3 separate regions of the Homo sapiens genome follow, and regions 2 and 3 are each linked to region 1. Evidence: promoter capture Hi-C in human tissues and cell types (Jung and others, 2019). All regions are on one chromosome and are shown on one strand. Each heading gives the region's core, a stretch centred on a gene start or on the middle of the fragment in contact. The rest is flanking DNA. Distances are from core to core; before and after follow the strand shown.

The links. The method cuts DNA at HindIII sites, captures the fragments that hold promoters and counts their contacts. A contact is called where the count stands out against the background at its distance.
Region 2: the fragment with the promoter of RCBTB1 here is called in contact with the fragment with the promoter of MED4 in region 1 in 1 of the 25 tissues and cell types used here (hippocampus).
Region 3: a fragment that was not itself captured here is called in contact with the fragment with the promoter of MED4 in region 1 in 1 of the 25 tissues and cell types used here (dorsolateral prefrontal cortex).

The regions. Positions count from the first base shown.
Region 1 is chr13:48,093,103-48,096,876 of GRCh38, forward strand. MED4 (mediator complex subunit 4) reads right to left here and starts at 2,002. Exons shown (of 7, transcript NM_014166.4): 1 at 1,852-2,002. The coding sequence starts at 1,976. RefSeq lists a silencer at 1,211-1,505. The HindIII fragment of the contact is 12,809 bases long and covers 1-3,774 here.
Region 2 is chr13:49,583,649-49,587,422 of GRCh38, forward strand. RCBTB1 (RCC1 and BTB domain containing protein 1) reads right to left here and starts at 1,910. Exons shown (of 13, transcript NM_018191.4): 1 at 1,796-1,910. RefSeq lists a silencer at 1,434-2,143. The HindIII fragment of the contact is 9,086 bases long and covers 1-3,774 here.
Region 3 is chr13:46,783,301-46,787,074 of GRCh38, forward strand. It overlaps ESD (esterase D), which reads right to left. Exons shown (of 10, transcript NM_001984.2): 4 at 3,721-3,774; 5 at 952-1,050. Among named protein-coding and RNA genes, the nearest start is that of ESD, 12 kb to the right of the region's middle. The HindIII fragment of the contact is 5,026 bases long and covers 1-3,774 here.

The DNA.
Region 1 (3,774 bases), core at 752-3,251:
ACACAATTCCCCATAGAAATAAAATTTCCATAGCGGTTAGAGCCTACATTATTAGCAGTAATACACTTTTCAGGTAAACAGAATTAACAGGCTGGTGTGGAAAACTCAAGATTCCTATCAACATGGTTCTGTGGAACAATGAGTTTTGAGTTACAAATGGGTTAAAAAAAACGTTTAGCCTACAACCTGTGTTTCAACTTTTTAAGACTATCTCCTTGCATTACATTTTATAAACTAATAAATATCCCGAAAGGCTATATAATCAGGTTAATAGAAAAAAAAAGATCCTAAGTTATAAATCCACTATTTTTAAAGAGGCTAAATCTAAAAATATGTAAGGTATATTCGTGATTTTTCTTCTCATTTTCATAAATGCAAGCCAGACACAAATTACATTCAGAGACTGACAAACTTCACAGATCACAGAATCAGTACACATAACTACCTCTGAGTGAACACATGAGACCTTTCTGGAAGCCAGTCACACCACCAGAGCAGCTTCATTCTGTGAAGAAGTTCCAATGATCCGCCCGCCTTGGCCTCCCAAAGTGCTCGGATTATAGGCGTGAGCCACCACACCCGGCCCTAATACAGTTTATTTTAAACAGTGGATCAAACACATAAGCCATTTAATTTCTGCTGTCTAGGTGTTTTCGGGTTTTCTTCCATCATTAAATATTGTGCTGACCTGGTAACTTGGTAGCAATACGATGGCAAGGACTAAATTTACACCAAAAATAAAGTGCTGATTATATCACGTATATTTTAAAATACAACAGGTAAGATTTATTCTAAAGCTGTCAAAGAATGTTGGCTATAGAAAAAGTGACATTTGAGCTGGATTCTGAAGGATATATGAATCATTCACCAAATCGGGAGTAGACTGGGAATGGCACTGAAGATGTGGAAGTCTGACTAAAGAATTTGAACTTTACCTCACTGGACAACGCAAACCTACCAATGAGGTAGCTTTTATATAATTTTTCTGCAGAAAAGTGATATAAGATGCCTTTTAAAACTGGTATCGGCCAATATAAAAGGATAAAGTGCAGAAGCATGAGGCAATTAAAACTGTTTGGGAGGCTACATTTAAGAAGGAGTTATGAACAGCGGGGTTGGAACGAGAGGGCAAATTGGAGCGACACTTTAGGAGGTAGAACCAAGATAATTTACCATCCAAGTCAATGGGAGGGAGTCAAGGAAGGCTTCAACTTGAAAGACTTATCATGAAAGGTGACAGAATATGAAGAACGACATCTAATTTCATCTCCTATCTCTGACACACAACCATCCTAAACAACTTGCAACTCCACCAAGCCAGGCTTTTTGCACTTGCTGTTCCATCTATCTGTGCTGCCTAGTGAGTTTGGCGAGCTCATGCTTCCCAAGCAGCACTTTCTTCAGAGGGCCTGCCCTGACTACAACCAAAAAAGGTGCCTAGTCCCTGTGCTCCAGTACCCCGCAGCGCAGCCCTCTAATAAAAACAGGCCCCAAGCCAGTTTACACATCTGTCTCTCTCTCGACAGCTGGCATCCAGTCTACCCTTCACTACCGTCTCCCCAATGCTGAGCCCCCAAGGAGCGTTCCATAAATGTTAAGTGGCTGGCCGCGGACGAAGAGGCTCAGACCGCGCGAGTTCTTATCATTACTAAAATTCCCTCTAACGGGAAAAACCGCCGCCCAGAGTGCCAGAGGGCTGCGGACCCCACGTCCATGACCCTCATGCACCCGAAACTCCCGAGCTGGCCCTCCCCGCCGAACCCCGAGAACGAGCACAAACGCAGGGCCGGCCGGCTCCGGGGTCAGTCCCCCGGCCCAGCTCCAGCCCGGCTCTCAGGCTCGCCGCATTACCTAGACAGGACCTCCAAGTCCTCAAGCGCAGACAGCAGCCGCTCTCGTGTGCTGTTACCACCCGCCACTCCCAAACCGCCTCCCAGCCGCTCCTTCTCCTTCTCACCACTCGAAGACGCAGCCATTTTCCCCAGAGTCCCGCCACCGGCGCACGCGCAGAGCGAGCTGACGCAGGTGCGTGGCGAGAAGGCGGGCTCGGAAGGCGGAAGAGTCACCCAGGAGAGGAAAAAGAGGCCTGGCGAGAGCGCCCCCTTTGGGCCTGGAGGCGCACTGCGGACACCGGCGCCATCTGTTGGGCCGGCGAGGGCTTTCTGGTCCAAACCCTGGGAGCGACAGCTGAACTGAGAACAGTGGGGGCAACGCAGTCTGATTCTCCTGGGCCTAATGGTTTTTTTTCTTTCTTTCTTTCTTTTTTTTTTTTTGAGACGAGTCTCGCTCTGTTGCCCAGACTGGAGTGCATCGCCGCGGATGTCTTGGCTCACTGCAAGTTCCGCCTCCTGGGTTCACGCCATTTTTCCTGCCTCAGCCTCCCGAGTAGCTGGGACTACAGGCGACCGCCACCACGCCCGGCTAATTTTTTGTATTTTTAGTAGAGACGGGGTTTCACCTTGTTAGCCAGGATGGTCTCAATCTCCTGACCTCGTGATCCGCCTGCCTCAGCCTCCCAAAGTGGTGGAATTACAGGCGTGAGCCACCGCACCCGGCCCACCTTAACCATTTTTAAGTGGATAGTTCAGTGGCATTAAATACATTCATACTGTTGAGCAACTATCCATCTCCAAAACCTTTTATCTTGTAAAACAAACTCTGTACTCACTAAATGCTAACTCCTTATCCCTCCCTTCTCCAGGCCCTGGCAACCACCATTCTACTTTCCATTGCTGTAAGTTTGGCTACTCTAGGTACCTCATATAAGCAGAATCATACAGTATTTGTCTTTTTGTGTCTGGCTTATGTCACTCAGCATTATGTCCTCCAGGTTCATCCATGATGTAGCATGTGCTGGAATATCTTTCCTTTTTAAGACTAATATTCCATTGTATGCATATGGCACCTTTTGTTCATCCATTCATCTGACGATGGACAGTTAGGTTACTTCCACATTGCTATAATCCATCTTTATAGCCATACATCTTCCAACAAAATGTTTTGCTCATTACTCAGGTTAATTATTGAACTGAAGGAACCAATACAGTACATAAGTAGTAGTTAATTAACATAGTTTAAGTCATTGATGTACCACACATTCCAAACCAGAACTGGTTGTCAAAGGCAAAAATACGTCTTAGCCTACTTTTCCTAGGGATAACAATGTAGTAGGGATCACTCTCTACCAGAAAAAAGCAAAGTTACAAGCCTATTGGGAATGAGGATTCCATATTGCTATTATAAAAGATGGTCTGGGACTGCCTCACTCCCATGAGGTAGTAGTACCTGTAGTCCTTTCATTTCAGGGTCTCATCCTCTACTCTGTCTTTTTGGAGGTGCTAAACCTGACTCCTGGGCACCCAGAGTTGACAAGTCTTTTAGAAATTCATGTTAAATAAATTCACTCATAGCAACTGCTGCGTAATCTAGAATGCTGATTTACTCACTTACGATGAAAAGTAATAGTGCCAAACATATCTTTTTCCCATAGACAAAACTATATGAGAAGCCATATTATCACAGGATGTTGCTTGTTAAACTTGGATCAGAACAAACAAGGATAGATTAAAAATTAATGACACAATCATGAGGCTTTGTGTCTCCACAGTGTAGGGATATTTGTGTTCAAGAGATTGGATTATTTGTGTTCATAGGTCAGGGTACCTTTTCCTCTAGACAGTGCAAGAGATCCTTGTCACCTTTTGTTTTCTGACCGTTCCCTGCATCTGCTGTTGGCTAACCCTTTTTTGTTAATGCAGTCAATTCTCAGGCAAT
Region 2 (3,774 bases), core at 660-3,159, 1.5 Mb after region 1:
TAATTCTCGTACCTCAGCCTCCTGAGTAGCTGGGACTACAGGCGCACACCACCACGCCCAGCTAATTTTTTGTATTTTTAGTAGAGACGGGGTTTCACCATGTTGGCCAAGCTGGTCTTGAACTCCTGGCCTCGTGTAATCTGTCGCCTCAATCTCCCAAAATGCTGGGATTACAGATGTAAGCCACTGCGCCTGGCCAATATGTAACATTTTTAACTTTTTGTAAAACCAGAGAATATTTTGAAATGTGTCCGAATGCCCTGCCTAGATTCTAGACTCTGTGAGGCCCCAGCCTCCTTTCCTATGCATGACTTACTGTTTAATGTAGTACACACAGAAGGGATATCATCATCATAATAAAGGTCCTCACTTTCCTTCACAGTTTCATCTACCCCACAATGACTCCCAGGAAAAGGAGGGTACTGTTTCAGACTTCCCAGCTCCCGTATATTAGGTGGAGCCAAGTTCTTGCTGCAGCATACGGGCACGCTTTAAAATTTTCAAATCATTTTTTAAAAGCTACAAGCTTGACAGCTTTGGGTTTTTATGGCTACTTGTTTTCTGAAGTTCACAGAACTTTATCATTTGGATCACACACTTAAAAAAATCACTTGCAAAAATCTCTTTAAAGATGAATATGCTTCCTCTTCAAGAGAAACAGACTAGCGGGTAGAAGAAAAAGGACCCGTCTAGAGTATTAATAAATAGACTGATATTCACACAATGGATTAAATGGATTAAAGTCCATCCCACAGATGAACTGTTATATTAATAGAATCCAAATATACAGTTACATCCTCGACCCTGAAAGCAGTTTAAACGGGTGAAATTCACCCAGTGCTCACTTGAAATGAGTACTCTAAAGTTTAAAGCACCTATAAACTGCCCTCAGGATTCAATCATTTTTCCATTCCTTCCGGCATTATATACTTTGATGTTTTAATGTTATTAGCCCACAATACACACCAGTTTCAGAAACTCAGTTTTTGTCCTCTAAGGGCTTTTAGTCCTCCCAAAAAAAGAATAGGGCAAAAGCAAGGAAGATCATGAATCTGGTTTTCTAAAAGCATTATTACAAGACTGCTTTATAAAATTGTAATCCCCAGCTGCAGAGTTCCGCAGATGGCTTGAAAGTGTCTTACATGCAAATAAATAAAAACAAAAGGCCACTTATGCGAGCAGAACACAGCGTGCTCGATAGTCATCTTAAACCGAGCAGGTAGGTACTTTATCAGAGGCAGACAAGGGAAACGTCACTTATTTAGAGTTCACCGCACGCCTGGATAAAAGTCCTCACTAACAAAATCCCTGCCTTTGTGGATTCTGTGTCGGAAAGGGAAACGATAAAGAATACGGTTTGTGACAGCACTACTCTCAGGAGACGAAGGAGAGATGCTAAGATCTTGGAAAGGAGAGAGAATAGGAAGAGTCGGAGGGGAGATCTCCTCTCAGTAAAACGGCACCCACAGCAGTCAGACTTCAGCTACGAGCAAAATCGAGTCCGTGCACCTCAAAAAAGAGAGGGAGGCAGGGAAAACTTTCCCTCGCCTCTCCCCATCCTTCCCTCCTCCTCGCAGGAGAGCACATTAGCTGAGGTGCTGGCGGGGCCGGGCCGGGGACCCCATCCCTCGCCCCGGACGCAGCGCCCGCAGGGACTGCCCGGGAGCCCGAGCGAGGGAGGCGGGAGGTACAGGAGTAACGGGGCACTCCCGGCCCGGCCTGCGGGGAAGGGAAGCAGGGGCAGGGCCGAGGGGGAAGAGGCCTCCGCGAGCTCGACCCCGCGCCCACACGCTACCTGCGAGGTCAGCTGCTGCCGCGCCGTCCCGCGGGACCGCAGGGATCTCCGAAGCTCCAATGGGCGCAGAAGTGCGAGCGAGCGGCGGTGCCCACCGGCAGCGAAGAGGAGGAGCGCCAGGGCGCCGGGCCCGCCGGGTCACGTGGCCCCGGCCGCCTCACGTGACCCGGTGCAGCGCGCGCCCGGGACGCTACCCAGCCGAGCATCCCGCACCGCCCCGGCCCCGGCCCCGGCCGAAACCCTGCTCTTCGGGCCCTACAACCCGACTTCTTTAGAAGCCGATTGGCCGTCTCAGGCCCGCCCCGAGGCCCTGCCACTGGAGTGTCCCCATGAAATCCGGTGGCTGCTGCCGGGACTTAGAGGCTTTTGTGTCTGAGGAACCAGGAACGCGCGAGGCACGGGCTCCTGCTCTGCTCCCCGAGATGGCTTGGCTGTGGGGAGGGTCGGCCTACCACCCCAGAGACCTAGGACGGAAAAGCGACCGAGAAACTTGGCTCCCTGCCCACTCTAGAGCGCGTCTGGCCCCGGGGCACCACCCAGGTGGTGCTGCCTGGGAGGAAAGGCGGCGGAGCTGGGACTAGTTTGTTTTTACTGGAGACGCGCCTCCCTCCCTCCCCGCCCCTCACTTCCTGATTGAAAGTACCTGAGGCAGGCCAGGGACTAGGGAAGGTGGCAGCTGGACAAAGGTATGAAGGAAGGACGAGATGAGGCACAGGTCCTGGTATTGGAAAGAGGCAGAGGTACCTCGGAAGCATGCCATAGAGGTTAGACGGGACCTAAGAGGGCATCTGGTCCAACCGGATTCGTGTTACCAGCGAGTAAACTGAGGCCAGGAGAGGGACTGCTACGAGCTGCTCCAGCCTATCACCTATAAAGACTACAGTCCCTTTGTAAAATACCATACAGCTCTCGGAGAACTCCCAGTTGGCGCTGCAGGATAAAATCCAAACTTGTTGGCATAGCATTCCAGCCACTTGTTCACTTACCTTTCCCATTTGAGCTCCTAGGAATAAACAGAAAAACATTTCATTTTCTAAATATCACCAGATAACTTCACTTTTGGTAACTTGAATTATTAAAAAAGTCCTACCGTCCCTCATCTCTTGCCACTTCCCCAACATTACTGGAGGCTCTGGCTACAAATAATTTGTTTTCCTTGACTACTCAACTTTCTTTGGATTATTTACTTTTTCTCTAAGTTTCTTTACTCCTTTTTGCTTTGTTCATTCTTTTGTCTGTATCTGAAATGTCCTGAATCACCACCTCCCCCACTTAAAGAAAACCAGGGCCAATGATTAAAAAAAAAAAAAAAGGTATTAAGAAACTAATGCAATAAGAGAATTGAGCTTAGTTCTGTATCTATTCTGAGGTCTCGCTCCTGTTGCACTAGTTCCTGAATAAAATGTTTTTACCACTTCAACTACTGTTTGGCTCTGGTTTTCTTCAACAGCCTCCAAAGTACACATCAGTTTCCTACTCATCTTTCAAAATCCAGGTCAAATGCCGCCTACTCTTGTCTTCCCAGCATCCTCTTCCCTGATTTTTTAGCAATTGAAGTTCATCCAGACAGTGTCAGCTGCAACTTCTTCCCTGATTTCCAGAATACTATATATATTCTGATACACCTCACACTGCCCAGAAATAGACTGCGCATTTCCTGTAAAAGGTGAATTGTCTATTGCTGTCTTCTCCCTTAGATTATAAACTCTTTGAAACAGGATTCTTCTGGGTTTAGAACAGCGCCTGGCATGTGATAGACCCTTAATACTCACTGAATGAAGTGGCTTGCCCAAAGTAGTGGCAGTTGAGTGAATTTACTAGAAGAGGCCTGTTTTGCTCAAAGAAACTAAAATCAGTTTCTTTTGGTTGCAACCCGATCAAAAGAACTTGTGTAAACATGTCTGAGAGAAAAACGAGGGCATGGGGTGTGAGCAATCAAATATGTCCTGAGCCCTCACTGCTTATGTGTCAGATGCCAT
Region 3 (3,774 bases), core at 820-3,319, 1.3 Mb before region 1:
TTTTCCTATCTATCCAACCTCCACTGGAATTTTCTTATGTTTCTTTTTAACTTGTTACATTTTATTTTATATACTTGCATGTGGTTAAAAAGCCAACCATTGGGATTTTGAATAGAATTACAGTAACACGTAGAGTAATTTGGAGACATGACCTTGTCGTAAGATTCATTTTATCCATCTAGAAACACAGCATTTTCCCATTTATTAAAGTCTTCGTTTATGATAACAAAATTTTAGTTTCCCTTTTATATATCTATTTTCGTATTTTATATTTTTGATATTATTTTGAATTAAATCTGTTGTTATATTTCTAACCAGATATGCATTGTTTTTGTATAATATGGCCTGTGAAAGGAAATATACTACTTGCCAGGCCAGCCATATAACTTCCCTAGTTTTACTGCCATTTAAATTCCATTTCCTGAAACTTCTAGAGTCATAAAACAAGTTTTAACTGTCTGATGCATTGAGTCTCACGTAGTTGATATTTTCATTTCTCTAATGTAAATATTCAAATCATTTATATTAAAACTAATACTTGTTTAACTGTATGGTTGATGTTAACAGAGATGAAAAAAGATGTAATTATCATGCAACAAGACAGTATACCTCTGGAATAGAAAAATAATTTCCTATGCATTACACATTAGTATTTTGACAGTAGTGCCAACATGATATATGAATTGAGTTGCTCAATCTCTGCTTTGAAGTATCTTAATCTGTACAATGGGAATAGCAAAACTATCCTCTTTCATAAAGGCCATGTCATGAGTAAAATTCAATGAGGAAAATGTACAGCATGGTATTTTGGAGTCATGATGCCACTTGAAAGGTTAATAGAGATAACAGCAAAAATATAAAATGAATTGTATAATGTATATATCATACCACTTTATACCAGTCTTAAAGATTTAGATTTTTACAAAGGATATCTAGACCACAAACACTTACGAGGGCTGGTATCTGGAGCAATGACAACAAGACCATGTTCTGAAGCAGACTGATGATAACCAGATTTTGATATAAAATTTTGCTCTGTGCAAGTTAAACCTGAAGATAAAAAATATTGTTATTGGGCACACATGGACATGAAGATGTGCACCATTAATACTGGGGACTATTAGAGCAGGGGGAGACGGAGACGGACAAGGGCTGAAAAACTACCAGTTAGGTACTATGTTCACTACCCGGGTGATGGTATCTTTCATACCCCAAACCTCCATGTCACGCAATACGCTCATATAACAAACCTGCACGTGTACCCCTTTAATCTAAAATAAAAGTTGAAATTATTAAAAATAAATTATCTCATGCTATATTGTGAATGGTTTATAAGCTTTAAACTGTTTATAATACAGGAAAACAAGCTCATTTGGTATTATTATTTTTTTTGCTTTAGAAACAATTTTGAGTAAGACACTAAAATTCACTTTTTCACAAAATTTGTAATAGTATTAACCTAAGAACTGTGTTAGGTTAAGTGATCCCATAACTATCCTTTTAAAATCACTACTAAAGTTTCAATTACTAAAATCCTTTGGACCAGGAGTGTTTGGGAATTCAGAAATTTTCAAACTGTAGAGTGACAATATGGTGCATAAGCCCAATATTAAAACAACCCCAGTGAAGTGTTATCAAATATGCTAATTAAACATCGCACTATTTCTGCACCAAAACATATTCACAGTAAATAAGCAAATACTATGGTCTTCATAATACAAATACTTTTTTTTACATACAGATAGTTCTCAGCAACAAAATTTAGCTTAATCATCTTTGTATTCTTCACTGAACTAAAAAGAGAGTAATGGTGACCATATGCCATCCTTAAATTGAGTTTTAGCCTCAGTTTTTAGAAGTTTCTGTTATTTTTCCTAGCTCCATGCTTTTCAGTCATGATAGAGGAGATGACTTAATTCTTTTACTATAGGTATCTAATACTACAATGATGTGAGAATGGTGAGGAATGAACTAGCAATCGATTTTATTGATCATTTCACCAGTTGAGAGAGATTTGGTTTGTTTATACTTTTTGGCTATTATAATAGTGTGCCATGAACATTCATGTGCAAGTTTCTGTATGGACATGTTTTCAATTCTATTGGGTACACAGCTAATAAAGGGCTGTTTCAATGGTCACCTTCACTTGGGAAAGATACAAATCACTACACATGAACTATCTTTTAAGATTTCAGTTTGGCTGTTTTGATTTCAGCTAATTTCTCTATTTTAGCTATATAATAATTGTGTAATCTTTCTGTCATTGTTTTCCTTAGACTTGCTGGGAAGTAAACCTTCTGAAATTTTTTTGTCACCATTTCTCACGTGCACTGGTCAGGCAATCTTACCTTTACTCAGAAAATCAAGCCTTAATTTCCAAGGTCTATCTGTTCTTCAGCATCTCACTAAGGAAACTGTCCTGTCATTTGATGTAAACAAACAAAAATTCTGTATTTTATACTTGTAAAGCTCAGATATGTCTTGCTAGATTCAATTTTAGTTAAAACTTAGGGCCCTATTATTAGAGTACCTATGACACAATGCCTCAGGGCTTCTGGTTATTATTGTTTAGCCAAGAGATATGACTATAGTACCCCTCACCAGAAACAAAACGCAAAAACAACAGGAGAAAAAACTAAATACAGCTCTGGACTGTGAGTCAGAAAACTTGTTCAACTCCACATTAGCGTGTGACCCTGGACAATATTTAGCTTCACTGGGCCTCATTTTCTTTCTAGGGATTACATGATTTCTAAGATCATTTTTAGCTATACAATATTATATTTTCTAAGACAATTAAATAACTAATTTTGTTGCTCTTGCTTTTAGCAATACCTAATGCTCTTCTAGCAAAATCAGTGCTCTTCATTCAATCACAGAAATGTTTTCTTGAGTTAAAGTCAGATATGCACTTAATCTTTACCCTTTAAGATGAAATATTTATTCTCATTTTCAAAGACTGGTATTTGGGACTTGTCCTTGATGAAACACACATGAGGGAGGATTTGTTAAATCAAAGTTACAGGAACCAATTTGAAGGAAACAAAATTAAAATAGTACTCTGTGACACAATTTAGTTGCTAGGATTCTCTCCTTATGTTTGCTTCTGAAGATGAAGTACCAGCGTCTTGTGAAAGAAAAGTTAGCATAGAGGTTTCAAAACTGCAGGTGTCAAAATCTTACTCTTCACAATCTATTCTACAGTAGTTAATATGAAACACTGATTAAGAGAAGCCTTAGCGTTCTTTTGTGACTTTCCAGATTGTTGTCAGAGAAGCTCTATGGAGTCCAGTTAAAATATTTTAGAGAACACTGTAAGTTATTTGACTTTTTACAATAGCTGGTTTCTAATTAGAGTATCTTGGTGTCCTGATTTCACCTAATATTGTTCTAATGGACTAGTAAAGTCTCTATAAACTCCAGAAATGCTTGGGTAGGTCCAAATTAAGTAAATAAGTTTTCTAAGCCCTTGCTATTGAGTACAGAACTTTACATTCTCTGCTAAATTACTTGGTCTATTAGAAAAATATATGAAATAAATATAATTCAGTAGGTCTGAAATTATTCTGAGGATAAAAGTAACAGAGTAGACTATGACAGGTCCTTAAAGTCTTTCATAAATGGCTCAAAAAGCCTACCAAGTTAAAATAAAAGGGTAAGATAAGCCAGTTAAAAAGAAAATAGAAACGACTTTATAAAACTCAAATGCATAATACTTACCTGAGAGCCAATACAGTGCAGGGCACTTTCCTGTTTCTGCCTTTGGTGGTAAGT